Regions from separate parts of the Homo sapiens genome. Here all the other regions are linked to region 2. Evidence: promoter capture Hi-C in human tissues and cell types (Jung and others, 2019). All regions are on one chromosome and are shown on one strand. Each heading gives the region's core, a stretch centred on a gene start or on the middle of the fragment in contact. The rest is flanking DNA. Distances are from core to core; before and after follow the strand shown.

Region 1 (2,700 bases), core at 27-2,526, 200 kb before region 2:
ATGATTTAAAAATGAAATTAAGAAAATAACTCCATTTACAATAGCACCAAAAAGAAAAAAAGAACCTTAGTAATAAATTGAACAAAAGGAATGCAAAACGTGTCCACTAAAAATTACAATACATCATTGAAAGAAGTTCAAGTTCTAAGTAAATGGAAAGACATCTCAATGTTCATTGATCAGTGTTAAAATGGAAATACTTTCACACTGATCTACAGGTTCAACATAATTCCTATCAAAATGCAGACTAGAATTTTGCAAAGTTGAGAAGCTGCTCCTAAAATTCATATGGAAAGTCACAGGATGTAGAATAGCCAAAATAATATTGAAAAAAGAGCAAAGTGGGAAGACACTTCACCATTTCGAAGCTTACTATTAAACTACAGTAATCAAGACAGTGTATCCCTGGCATAAGGACAGACAAATATACCGACGGAATAGAACAAAAGCCTAGAACTAAACCTTTACATTTGATAAGTTAAACTTTGACAATTCAATGGAAAAGGAATAGTCTCTTCAACGAATGGTTCTGAGACAACTGGATATTCACATGCAAAAGAATGACGTTGGACATCTTCCTCACACTTACACAAAAATTAACTCAAAAATGGATCACAGATGTCAATGTAAGAGCTGAAACTCTGAGAATAAAACATAGGAGTAAATCTTCTTGACCTAAGTAATGGTTTCTCAAATACAACACCAAAAGCACAGGTGATAAAAGTAAAAATAGATAAATTAGACTTCATCAAAATTAAACACTTTTGCACCTCAATGATGCCATCACGAAAGTGAAAAGACAACCCACAGAATGGGAGGAAATATTTGCAGACCACTTACACTGGTGAGTGTGATAACAGACTTGTATCCAGAATAAATAAAAAACTCTTAGGATTCAATAATAAAAATATAAATAACTCCATGAAAAAATAAGCAAAGGATCTAAATAGACATTTATACAAAAAATATATACAAATTGCCATTAAGCACATGAAAAGACGGTCATCATAGGTCACTAGGGAAATACAAATCAAAACCCCAATGAGATATATCACTTCACATGCACTAGGATTGGTATAACAAATAAAATAACAAGTTTTGGGGAGGATATGGAGAAATCTGAAGCATCATTGCCAGTTGGAATGTAAAACAGGCTGCTTTGGGAAACTGGCAGTTCCTCAAAATGTCAAACATGGAGTTACCATAAAATCCAATGATTCCATTTCTAGGTGTACATCCAAGAAAAACGACCCATGCACGCAATACTTTGTACACGAATGTTTGTGCGGTATTTCCCATCATTACCGAAAGGTGGAAACAACCCAAATGTCCATCAACTAATAAATGATGAATACCCACACAGTGGATTAGTATTCAGCAACAGGAAGGAATGCAGGGCTGCTGCACACTACAACAGGGATGAGCCCTGTGAACATTATGCCAAGTGAAAGACGCCAGGCGCAAAATGTCCCATGTTGTATGATTCCATTGATATGAAATGTCCAGAATTGGAAAATCGATAAAGACAGCAAGAGGATGAGTGGCTACGAGTGGCTATCTGGAGTTGGGCGAGAGTAGGATGGATTGAGGTGACTACTAAAGGGTTTGGAACTTTTCAGAGTGACAAAAATGTTCCAGCGCTTGTTTGTTGTGATGGCTGTAAAACTCTATGAATACACTGAAAATCACTGAATTGTACACTCTCTTTTACTTATTTATTTATTTTTGAGACGAAGTTTCGCTCTTGTTGTCCCGGCTGGAGCGAAGTGGCGAGATCTCGGCTCACCGCAACCTCTGCTTCCCGGGTTCAAGTGATTCTCCTGCTTCAGCCTCCTGAGTAGTTGGGATTATAGGTGCCCACCACAAGGCCCAGCTAATTTTTTTGTATTTTTAGCAGAGACAGGGTTTCACCATGTTGGCCAGGCTGGTCTCAAACTCCTGACCTCAGGTGATCCTCCTGCCTCAGCCTCCCAAACTGCTGGGATTACAGGCATGAGCCACTGCACCCGGCCTGTACACTTTAAAAAGTGAATTTAAATATAGATCTCACCTTATTAAAGCTGTTAGGGAAAAAAACCAATACCAACCAAACAGGCAGCAGATGGAGTTGGCCAGCACTTGGCCCTGGCATATTGAGGGAAATTCTTTCTTTTTAAAAAATGATCAGTACTTTAAAGAAGTTATGGGTGACGCCATCTGAACATTTAGGATGATGACATTTGGAGGAGGTGCTCTCTGGTTTCCGTCCTTGATGTGGTTTTCAGGGCATTTCAAGTTTTCTCTGTGGGAGCTTGACTTTAAGACACTCTTTGGATGAGCAACGCTCAGTAGCAGTTGCCGTGGACGCCCTGACTGCAGTGGCAGCGTTCGCAGCTCCCTGGCGTCTTTGATGTTGTCAACATTTCATGGCAAATCAGAAAGATGTCTGAACCATTTTCCTATGTGTTCATCAGATTCACTCCTCTTCGTTAATGAGACTGTCAAACGCTCCAAGGCCTGTTAACTTCTTTGATATGTGTCTCTTCCTCCTAATGAGCAACTGCTTTTGGTTTGATATAAAACCTTTCTTTTTTGGTGACAATGAGCTTTTTGAAGTCAGAGTTATTATTTTTTTTATTTCCTTGCTCATTTTCTACTACTTTAGTTTCATATCCCATTAATTTTTATCTGAATTTTCTTTCCTTTCTAATAAATAAATTA
Region 2 (2,700 bases), core at 125-2,624:
ACACCAAGCGGCCCTGGGCGTCAGTGCGCACGGGCACCGCCAGGATGCGCTCCGCTCCGTGCCCCAGGGGCCCGCCTGCAACGGGAAGGGGCGTTAGATCGGCGGAGACCACGGAGCCCCAGTGCCTCAGAGACCCGCCGGCAAGCCACGCCCCCCCAGACCCCGCCCCACTGCGAAGGGAAGGGGCATTCCGCCAGGCGACCCCAGAAGCCAGCCTGCACCTCCCCGGCTTTCCTGCAACCGGGAAGGGGCGTTAACAGGGCCACCACTCCGGGGCTCCGCCACTCCCCAGCCGTTCCCTCCTCCGGAGACCTTGCCTGCCAAGAGCTCTGCCCCCTGCCCCGTTCAGGGTTGGGGCTCGGTGGGAACCTCCCCGTGCCCGAAGGGACGACCCCGTCAGAGAGTCCCCCGACCCTTGCACCTACCGTCCTTGGCAGGACGTGGAGCTGCTCGGAAGCCATTCCGGGTTGGCCCCCTTACCCGTGTGCCACGACCCCTCGGCGGGCCCCTGCCGCCCGAGTGCCCTCACCGCCAGCCTCCGGAGCGGCGGAGTCTCGGCTTCCCCGAGCACGAGCGGCCTGTCCTGCCTGTCCAGCTCCCGCTCAGCCCGCTGCCGGCCCCGTCTCCCCGAGCGCCCGAGGACTGGGAGGGGTGGAACAGGGTCCCTCCGATCTCCGGGGATTCCCTGCGGGGCGCCCCAACCAATCCTTAGGGCCCAAGGCTACGCGCTCGGCAGCCGGCTCCTCCGGAGCGTCCCCGGACGCGAGCCCCGGCGCCGCCTCGCCCTGGCTCCCCCCTCGGACCCGCTGGGGCTGACTCTGCGCTCTTGGCCGCGGGGCTTTTCCCGGCCCTCCGTCCCCACCCTCCGCGACTCAGGAGCCGCCAGTGCTCCGAGGCTCCCCCGGCCCAAGGCGCTCGGGGGCGGTGCGGGGCGCCCCCTGCGCGACCAACCCGGCCCCGAAGTTGGCCAACTTGGCCCCGGGCGGGGCGCGCGGAGTTTGCCCAAGTCAGGCTGGACGACGCCTGGGGAGGGGGCGGCGGGGCACGCGGGACAGGGCCAGGCCGGCGGGGGTCCCGGGGAGTAGGGGCCGGGCCGCACCTACCTGGGGGGTCGGCGGCGGCGGCGAGCCTGGCGTTCGCGGGCGGCGGCGGCGGCGGCAGGAGCGGCGGCGGCAGCAGCAGCAGCAGCAGCAGCAGCGCGGGGCAGAGCAGGCGGCGAGCGGCTCCCGCCGGCGGATCCATGGCAGCCGGACTGCAGCCGGGGCCCCGCACTCGCAGCCGGCGCGAAAGTTCCCCGCGAGCCGCCCAGCCCACATCTGGGGGCAGCTGGAGCCGCCCGCAGCTGCAGCACCGCAGGGCGCGGGGCGGAGGAGGCGAGGCGCGGAGGGGCGGGCGGGGGAGCGCGGAGGGAAGGCGGGGAGAGGGAAGGAGCGAGCGAGCGAGGGAGGCAGGCGGGAGGGAGGGAGGCGAGCGAGGGGGAGGGCGGGGACGGCGGGCGCCTCAGCCTGCGGTGACCCGGCGCATCTTGGCGCGGCCGCCGCCGCCGCCCGCTTCCCTCTTCGCGCCGCCGTCGCCGCGGTGCCGGGCTCGCAGCGAAGCAGAGACACCCCGAGGCGGCGGCAGAGAAGCGCCGCGGGCCGGGCCGGGGGAGCCCCGCCGCCAGCCACCCCAGGGGCACAACCTCCGAGGAGCGGCGCCGGCCGAACGTCCCCACCTAGAGAGCCCTTGGGGTGCCGGGTCCCACCCATCAGCCCTGGAATTCAAGGGGTGCATCCCCCTGTCTCTGTGCTCTGGGGCAGGACAGGGTGAGGGAATGAAAGGGGAGGGGGGACTGACTACTGGGTCCAAGGTCTGAGCCAGGCCGAATGCCCAAATAGAGGCCGCAAAGGCCAGAAGATGCTGTTAGGAGGGTACACCCAGGGCGCGACCCCAAAGATCAACTTTTGCCCTTACTGAGAGAGGCAAGGCTCCTTCAGTCCCCAGTTCCTCTTCCTCTGAAGTCCCTGTCCCCTGTCCCCCATCTGCCTTCCCATCCCTCCGCTGCAGCCTCAGCACAGCCTCTTCCTGCCAGACCTGGGCTCTCTGCCCATGAGCACAGTCAGGCTCCTGCCCTCACCTGTCCTCAACCCCACGTATGCATTCTGTCCTCCCGCCATTGCACTCCCGGCCCCCAACCTGAAATGGCCTCTCCAAGCTCTGCCTACCTTTTCCACCCAAGCATCCAAGGACACCTGGGCCCATTCTGGGGCCAGTTTGCTGTTAGAGCCCGTTGCCAACCGGAACCCCTCCCCAGTCCCTCCTCTCCAGCAAGGCCCTGATCCTCCCATGCTGTCTGAGCTCAGCGGCCTCTCTCCAGGGCCTGCCTGAGAGCCCCCTCTCAGGCTGTTGATCATCTCTGCCCTGGGACCCCCAATTTCTGCCTCACTTCCCCAGAGGGTGAACACCCACCCCTTTGATTTTCTCATTTGCCCTGCCCCAGGTCTGTGTGGCCAGGGCTTTGGTCTTTGCTTTGGCCAGGGGCAGAGGACCCGGAGATGACTCAGGCCTCTCCCTGCTGGCCAGGAGGTCCCAGTCGTTGGGGGAAACACGACTTACACAGCAGGCTCTAACTGTGATCTCACGTCCTTGGTTCTTTCGATTGTGGGTCCTGGGTGTGAGAGCATCGCAGCTGGACAGCCATCTTCACCTGCAAGCTGTACT
Region 3 (2,700 bases), core at 198-2,697, 130 kb after region 2:
AAAAGCTTGGCCGTGGGTGGGTTGGGGCCGACCCTTTCTCCCACCGGTTTATGGCTGGAGAAGGTGGGAGATGTCAACTCCATTTAGGGGACTGGAGGGACCTGGACAGTTTTGAAGGGGAATTTGAGAGTTGAATTTGAGTGTGCGCTTGTAAAGGACTCAACCCTGCCAGTCGCGGTTCAAGATCAGGGTTGGCTGTAGGTGGGAGGCCGTGCAGTTCCTGGGAAAGCTAACTCACCGCGGTGTCTTTTCTGTCTCACGCCGAGAAGAGCCCTGTTTGTGCTCCGCTACTGCCTGGAGTCTCCAGAGGACGCAAACGGGCGAGGGGATGTGTGGGGAGAAGTACTTGCTTTTTCTTGCTTTCTTCTTTACAGAATTTGTTCTTTTCCCACAAGGCCACTCTAGCCACACCAGGAGCTTTCTCAGAAGCAGTCACAATCTTTTTCCTTTTTTTGTTTTCAGACAAGGTCTCACAAATGACAAACAACAAGACAAATGACAAACAGGCAAAAAAAAAAAATCTTTTTTCTTCCAAGATAAAACCCAAATTGATTCAGCAGACATTTTGATTAGGAAATCCTATAAATCAGGACCACTCTTAATTTCAGACACTCCGTTATGAAGTGTACATCTACCTCTAGGGGATGAATAAGCCATTGAATCTTTTAAAAACTGGCTTTTTAAAAACTGTTGCCGAGGCTGGAGTGCAGTGGCACAATCTTGGCTCACTGCAGCCTTAAATTCCTGGGCTCAAGTGATCCTCCTGATTTAGTCTCCCTAGTAGCTGGGAGCACAGGTGCATGCCACCACCATGCTGGCTAATTTTTTTTTTTTTTTGAGACGGAGTCTCGCTCTGTTGCCCAGGCTGGAGTGCAGTGGCATGGTCTCGGCTCACTGTAACCTCTGCCACCCAGGTTCAAGCGATTCTCCTTCCTCAGCCTCCCAAGTAGCTGGGATTACAGGCACCTGCCACAGCGCCTGGCTAATTTTTGTATTTTTAGTAGAGACGGGGTTTCACCATCTTGGCGAGGCTGGTCTTGAACTTCTGACCTCGTGATCCACCCCCTGCTCGGCTACCCAAAGTGCCAGGATTACAGGCATGAGCCACCGCGCCCCGCCTAATTTTTGTATTTTTGTGTAGAGATGGGATCTCATTATGTTGCTCAGGCTGATCTCAAACTCCCGCCCTCAAGCAATCTTCCTGCCTTGGCCTCTCAAAATGCTGGGATTATAGACGTGAGCCACTGGGCCCACCTAAACAATCTCTTGAGCCTCTCTCCCATCCTCCCAGCCCAACTTTCTTATTCCATCCTTGCTGGTGTCTGTAGGAATGGACAAGAGACCCTGGATGTTTTTCTGCTCTGTGCTGGCCTCTGTGAAGCTGTGGGCCTCAGGCTCTGCACATCCTCCCCGTGCGGTTTGTCTCCTTCTCCCATGCAGCTGTTCTTTGTGACCGAAGCTGGTTTTAAAATGTGGCTTTCCCCGAGGAGAAATCACAGGCTTTGCCCTTTGAAGCTTAATGGTGTCTTACGAAGGTCCTACCCCCAAATGCGAAGGTAGCAAAGCCAGTTTTTAAGAGATTCAATGGCCTGTTCATCCTCCAGATGTAGATGTACGCTTCATAACGGAGTGTCTGAAATTAAAAGTGGTCCTGATTTATAGGATTTCCTAATTAAAATGTCTGCTGAATCAATTTGGGTCTTGTTCTGGGAAAGAAAAGAATTTTTTTGCCTGTTTGTCATTTGTCTTTTGACTTTGCTTATGTTTGTGTCTGTGTGTGCATGTGCACGTAGGGTTTTGTTGAACATTTTATTTGGAAACAATTATAGATTCACAGAAGTTGCAAGGATAGTATCGAGATGTCCCCATTTACACTTCACACAGTTTCTCCCAGTGACAATATCTTACATAACTATGGTACAACATCAAAACCGGGAAAATTGACATTGGTGCAATGTGCGTCATCTTTTTTTTTTTTCTTTTTTGAGACAGAGTCTCACTCTCTCGCCCAGGCTGGAGTGCAGTGGCGCGATCTCAGCTCACTGCAACCTCTGCCTCCCAGGTTCAACCCATTCTCATGCCTCAGCCTCCCGAGTAGCTGGGACTATACGTAGCCCGCCACCACACCTGGCTAGTTTTTGTATTTTTAGTAGAGAAAGGGTTTCACCTTGTTGGCCAGGCTGATCTCTAACTCCTGACCTCAGGTGATCTGCCCATCTCAGCCTCCCATAATGCTGGGATTACAGGCGTGAGCCACCAAGCCCGACCCAATGTGTGTCATCTTATCATATGTGTAGTTTCATGTAACTATTACAATCAAAATACAAAACTGTCCCATTGCCACAAAAATCACCCTTGGGAGCCACCCCATGATAGTCACCTACACAGCCATGTCCCCACCATCCCTAACCTCTGACAGCCACTCGTCTGTTTTCCATCTCTGTAGGGGGTGAATAGGCCTCCAAAAATGTATGTCCAGCTCCTAACCCCTGGAACTGTGAGTGTGACCTTATTTGGAAAGGGGTCCTTACAACTGTAATGAAGAGTCTCGAGTTGAGATCATCCTGGAGTCAAAGTGGGCCCTGAATCCAATGACAGCTGTAAGAAAAGGAAGAAGGACATTGGAGACAAAAGGCAAAGAGGAGAAGGCGATGTGGAGACGGAGACACAGGTGGCAGTGATGCGTCCAAAAGCCAAAGA

Evidence for each region. Contacts are between HindIII fragments. The study calls those that stand out against the background at their distance.
Region 1: a contact is called between a fragment that was not itself captured here and the fragment with the promoter of ADAMTS2 in region 2, in 3 of the 25 tissues and cell types used here (H1 embryonic stem cells, IMR-90 fibroblasts and mesenchymal stem cells).
Region 3: a fragment that was not itself captured here is called in contact with the fragment with the promoter of ADAMTS2 in region 2 in 1 of the 25 tissues and cell types used here (dorsolateral prefrontal cortex).

What each region holds. Positions count from the first base shown.
Region 1 is chr5:179,144,143-179,146,842 of GRCh38, forward strand. All of the region lies in intron 10 of ADAMTS2 (ADAM metallopeptidase with thrombospondin type 1 motif 2), which reads right to left. Among named protein-coding and RNA genes, the nearest start is that of ZNF354C, 85 kb to the left of the region's middle. The HindIII fragment of the contact is 7,607 bases long and covers 1-2,700 here.
Region 2 is chr5:179,344,087-179,346,786 of GRCh38, forward strand. It overlaps ADAMTS2 (ADAM metallopeptidase with thrombospondin type 1 motif 2), which reads right to left and starts at 1,375. Exons shown (of 22, transcript NM_014244.5): 1 at 1,104-1,375; 2 at 1-75. The coding sequence starts at 1,242. It overlaps LOC105377759 (a long non-coding RNA gene), which reads right to left. Exons shown (of 3, transcript XR_941311.3): 3 at 2,275-2,693. The HindIII fragment of the contact is 12,907 bases long and covers 1-2,700 here.
Region 3 is chr5:179,475,911-179,478,610 of GRCh38, forward strand. No RefSeq gene overlaps it. Among named protein-coding and RNA genes, the nearest start is that of RUFY1, 73 kb to the right of the region's middle. The HindIII fragment of the contact is 4,382 bases long and covers 1-2,700 here.